Regions from separate parts of the Homo sapiens genome. Here region 1 is linked to region 2. The links are contacts of gene promoters, found by promoter capture Hi-C in human tissues and cell types (Jung and others, 2019). All regions are on one chromosome and are shown on one strand. Each heading gives the region's core, a stretch centred on a gene start or on the middle of the fragment in contact. The rest is flanking DNA. Distances are from core to core; before and after follow the strand shown.

Region 1 (2,700 bases), core at 39-2,538, 86 kb after region 2:
TGATGAAGTCGTTGCGGGGAGCCCTCAGGAATGGGATTTGTGCCCTTGTGAAAGAGGCCCCAAAGAGCTGCCTGGCCTCTCCCAGACACCAGATCTGCCGGTGCTCCATCTTGGACCTCCAGCCTCCAGAACTTTGAGAAATCAATTTCTGTTGTTTATAAGCAGTTTATGGTCCAGTCAAGTGCCACAAGTCCCATAGATAGTCCCATACATGATGACACCGTATTTTTTTTTTTTTTTTTTTGAGATGGAGTCTCGCTCTGTCACCCAGGCTGGAGTGCAGTGGTGTGATCTCGGCTCACTGCAACCTCCGCCTCCCCAGTTCAAGCGATTCTCCTGCCTCAGCCTCAGAAGCTGGGATTACAGGCATGTGCCTCCATGCCCAGCTAATTTTTGTATTTTTAGTTTAGACGGGGTTTCACCATGTTGGCCAGGCTGGTCTCGAACTCCTGACCTCAGGTGATCCAACCGCCTCGGCCTCCCACAGTGCTGGGATGACAGTGTGAGCCACCGCACCCGGCTGGCACGTTATTTTTTATGCCTTTTCTGTATTTAGATACACAAGAGCTCACCACTGTCAAGGGGGCCCACAGTATCTGGTGCAGTGACATGCTCTGCAGGTTTGTAGCCTGGGAACAGCAGGTTACAGCACAGGGCTGAGGTGTGTCACGGGCTGTGCTAGCCGGGTTTGTGTGAGTGAATGCTGTGAGGTCTGCACGACAGTGATATCGCCCGAGCATGCATTTCTCAAAACAGATCTCACTAGGCGACCCATGACTGTACTTGCTATAGCAGCCAGCACAAACCAAGCCACTTCTGGGAAACTCCATCGCCAAATACCATCCCTCTGGGGATTAGGTTTCAACACATGCATTTGGAGGCCTCAGACATTCCACCTCTAACAGCCTCCATGTGGCAGGTCTGGGCCAGAGCTGGGCAGGAAAGGGGAAGGGCCTTCTGGCTGAAGGGTCCCCACAAAGAGGCCAATGAGTGGGTCAAGAGCGTGGCAGTGTGAGGAACTGAAGACAAGCCCCGGCGAGGTGGGGCTGTGACCGGGGCTGAGCGGGCAACAAGTGGGGACTTTGTCCAGCAGGTTCAGAAAAAGCTGTCACGCAGAACACATCTGGCGGCCACCCCTGCCCATGCCCATCTTATAGCGTTTTCATCAGCAGATTTCAGCACATAATCATTTAAGATAAAGTTGCCCGCTCAACTGTGTTAAAAATAAGTAGCACTGCCTGCAGTTGCTTGTGGGGAACAAAAGCAACGTCTCCTTTCACCCGCAGAAAGCCCGTGATAGGGGGCGGGGCTGAGTGTCAGTCTGCACCTCTGCTGAGTTCTCAAGGTCGGCGTGAATGATTTGCCAGGACGTGGCGCTGCGGTGGCGATCGGGGCCACTCGGGAAAGGTACGAATCAAATAGGAATCAAATCCGGTAGCTGTCAGTTCAGTACATTTTCAACTTTTATTCTTAAAAACCTGGGTGGAGAAATAATTGTAGGATTTAAAGATTGACGGACTGAAGCCTTAATCACCAGGCAGTGACTAACGCCAGAAAGAGCTGCGGCAATTTTTAGACTGGGTTCAGAAAGGCACCGAGTCCTAGGAACAAAAGGCGGGCGCAGGGCCCTCCGGGAAGACACAGGGGCTGAATCGCAACAGGACGCAGGCGGCTCACCGTTCTCTCCACACGGACTCTACTTCCTAAAAGGGAATCGCACCAGCATAACCTGCAGAGAAGGGGCTTCAGCTGCCGTCTGCGGACCCCCTACACCCCCACTCAACGCCACCTCCAGCCCCCAGGTAGGGCTGGCCTCCCTGCCTCAGCCCCTGCCAGAAGCCCGGGGCTGCCCTTTCCTGCAGCTGGGCCTGTCCTCCTGAGACAGCTGCCTGCTGGGCGTCGTCGTCCGTGCCAGCCACGGAGGCAGTGTCTCTTCTGGCACGTGCTCCCAAAGGAGCAGTGAAGAGAAAGTCAGAGGCTGCAGGGTGCCAAACCCCAGGGGGCTGGCCCTGGAAGCCTGGGACGCCTGCAAGGGCCAGGTTAGTGGAGGTGAGGACAGAGGCCCGCCTGCTGACGGGCTTCCCAGCTCTTCTCAGAAGGAAAACGTGCCCATGGAGATGAGGTGGATCAGGAAACGAGGAGAGAGGCCGACACGCTCTGGAAACCTCCCTGTCTTCTTTTCCCCATTCTCCCTGGGCCCTCCCCACATCAACCAGAAGCCGGTCCTCCGATCCTGCCCGCTGAGCCCAGGTGTGGGCCCCAGGCCTGGCTGCCCTCCCGCCTCTGGTCCATCCGGGCCTCTGACCCTTCCTTCCCCTGCTGCCTGGTGGGTGCTCTCCAGTGGCTCCTGAAGTGTGCACAGGACAAAGCCCAAACCCTGCCCACGGCCCCCACGGCCCCCATGGCCGTCCCTGGCCAGCCCCCCTACATCCTGGCTGCACTGGCTGTTCCCTCCTTTGTGCCTCTACTCAGGTGCGGTTCCCTCTACTGAGATCCCCACCCCGACTTGTTCTCTGGACAAACTTCCTCTCGGCTTTAGCTGTAGAATCGCCATGGCCAATATCATAGCTGCAACCACATGTGACTCCAGAGTGCCAGGCGACGCGTGCCATCAGCATACACGCCTGGTTTTGGAAACTTACTACAGAAAAAAAAGCCTGCAAAATATCTTAATACTTTTTAATATTAATTACGTGTTGA
Region 2 (2,700 bases), core at 199-2,698:
AAGGTTAATCTGTTGGTGATAATTCATCCAGCATTATACTGAGGGCTTCTGCACTCTCCTGTAATATATCTCAAATACTAAAAGAAGAAAGTGAACTCAGGCATTCAGACTACGAGAGAAACAGAAATTACTGAGGCCAGGTGCGGTGGCTCACGCCTGTACTCCCAGCACTTTGGAATTGAGTGCTGAGGCAGGATCACTTGAGGCCAGGAGTTCAAGACCAGTCTGGGCAACATAGGAAGACCCCAATTTGTACAAAAAATACAAAACTTAGCTGGCCTGGCCGCACGGTGCCAGTAGTCCCAGCTATTGGGGAGGCTGAGATGGGAGGCTCACTTGAGCCTGGGAGGTAGAGGCTGCAGTGAGCTGTAATCGTGCCAATGCACTCCTCCACCACGGATGACAGTGAGGTCTGTCTCACTCAGAAAAATAACAAAAAATTTTAATTTAAAACATTACTCAGTTGACATTCACTGAAGTCCTATGTGTCTGGCAACCTGTTCCTGCAGCAGTGGTTCTCAGGCTGAGTGTGGGGAGCAGAAGCACTTGAACAGCTTCATAAAGCAGATGCCAGTCCTGATTTAGTAGGGCTGGGATCCTAGAACTTGCATTTCTTTCTTTTCTTTTGCGATGGAAATGGAGTCTTGCTATGTTGCCCAGGCTGGACTCCTGGGCCTTTGTGATCCTCCCACATCGACGTGCCAAGTAGCTGGGATTACAGGCTTGGGCCACTGCGCCCGGCATAGAACGTGTATTTCTAACAAATGTCCAGGGGATGCTACTGCTGATGGGGGACCACGCTCGGAGAACCACCTGGTACCATGAACAAGAAGTAGATTCTCGGCCCTCAGAGAGGTACTCTCGAGTGGAAATCGGAAAACAATCCAATAATTAACGCAAAACAGAAAACTGCAAACAGTGGGAAATGCTGCCATGAGGGAAAAATACTGGGTGCCCAAACAGCAGGGCAGCAGGAGTACATGGTCTACTGGAGGGAGGGGACGCCTGAGCTAGGAAAGGGGTTACGGGGCTGGGGAGGAGCGTTCTCGCAGAGGGACCAGAGTCACCGCACCACGAGGGAAAGCGGCGGCGGGGGCCGTGGGCCGGTAACAGCGGGAACAGGCCAGTGGACCCCGCCTGCCCGGCCCGGCCACGTGGAGGTTCCACAGGGCTCGGAGGGCCCCCAGCTCCGGCCGCCGCCGCCCACACCCGCACCAGCCCAGCCGGCCCCCGAGACGCCAGCCGCCCACACCCCCGCCAACCTGCGGCCCGCTGAGTCCTGGCGACGATGTATTTCCGGAGCTTCCTCACCGCCCGGTCCCGGGTCACCTGCTCATTCCCCGCCAGGCGCTGAGCCAGCTGGATCTCAGGCGGGAGCTGCACGCGCGAAACCATGACGCCGACGGCCGAGACCCCCTGTCCCGGAGTCGCCTGGTACCCAGCACACTGAGCACGCGCCTCCTGCGCCCGCCTCCTCCTGGCCCCGGCGCGTGGCGTGACGTCACAGCCCGCGACACCGCCCAGGCGCACGCCACCGCCGCGCAGTGGCCGAGCCGCGCAACTGCAGCCCCCGGAGGCCGAAGGCTACAGAGGGGGCGCGCGCTCCCTGCCTGTGCGCATGGGCGGAACCAGCGAGCGCGCGCCTGCGCCTGCGCCTGCGCCTCGCTGGGGCTGCGGTGGGTCGGGATTCTGAGGCAAAGATCTGTTGTTTTTTAATCTCATTTTATTTATAACCCCACTTGTATTTTTTTCCTGAGACAGGGTCTCGCTCTGTTACCCACGCTGGAGTGCAAGGCGCGATCTCGGCTCACTGCAGCCTTTGCCTCGCGGGCTCCAGGGATCCCCCAGCCTCAGCCTCCCGAGGAGCTGGGACCACGGGCGCCACCACTCTCGGCTCGAAACTTTATTTTTAAAACCAGGGGTGTGCCGGGCGCGGTGGCTCACGCCTGTAATTCCAGCACTTTGGGAGGCTGAGGCGGGTGGATCACGAGGTCAGGAGTTTGAGACCAGCCTGACCAACATGGTGAAACCCTGTCTCTACTAAAAATACAAAAATTAGCCAGGCGTAGTGGCGGGCGCTTGTAATCCCAGCTACTCAGGAGGCTGAGGCAGGAGAATTGCTTGAATCCGGGAGGCGGAGGTTGCAGTGAGTCGAGATTGCGCCGCTGCACTCCAGCCTGGGCGACAGAGTGAGACTCTGTCTCAAAAAACAACAACAAAAAAAAAAACGGGGAGGCTGCATTTGGCCTAGGGCCACAGTTTGACATACCCTGAAGTAGAAAAATATTCTTTATTTTTAGAAATAACTGCAGAACTCTTTGGTAAAGGTGACCTGTCATGATGTCTGTAATTCATTCTGCAAAAAAGTAAATCATTACACGCACATATGTGTATGCAGATAAGCAACTATGGCACACTGTTAACAGTTGTGGCGTTGGCCGGGCGCGGTGGCTCACGCCTGTAATCCCAGCACTTTGGGAGGCCGAGGCGGGCGGATCATGAGGTCAGGAGATCGAGACCATCCTGGCTAACACGGTGAAACCCCGTCTCTACTAAAAACACAAAAAATTAGCTGAGCGTGGTGGCGGGCGCCTGTAGTCCCAGCTACTCAGGAGGCTGAGGCAGGAGAATGGCGTGAACCCCGGAGGCGGAGCTTGCAGTGAGCCGAGATCGCGCCACTGCACCCCAGCCTGGGTGACA

Evidence for each region. The method cuts DNA at HindIII sites, captures the fragments that hold promoters and counts their contacts. A contact is called where the count stands out against the background at its distance.
Region 1: a fragment that was not itself captured here is called in contact with the fragment with the promoter of RRP1 in region 2 in 2 of the 25 tissues and cell types used here (adrenal gland and heart left ventricle).

The regions. Positions count from the first base shown.
Region 1 is chr21:43,701,765-43,704,464 of GRCh38, reverse strand. It overlaps LOC124905030 (a long non-coding RNA gene), which reads left to right and starts at 1,165. Exons shown (of 2, transcript XR_007067894.1): 1 at 1,165-1,802; 2 at 2,473-2,700. The HindIII fragment of the contact is 8,181 bases long and covers 1-2,700 here.
Region 2 is chr21:43,788,325-43,791,024 of GRCh38, reverse strand. It overlaps RRP1 (ribosomal RNA processing 1), which reads right to left and starts at 1,448. Exons shown (of 13, transcript NM_003683.6): 1 at 1,263-1,448. The coding sequence starts at 1,395. RefSeq lists silencers at 1,038-1,207, 1,418-1,647 and an enhancer at 1,278-1,387. The HindIII fragment of the contact is 35,062 bases long and covers 1-2,700 here.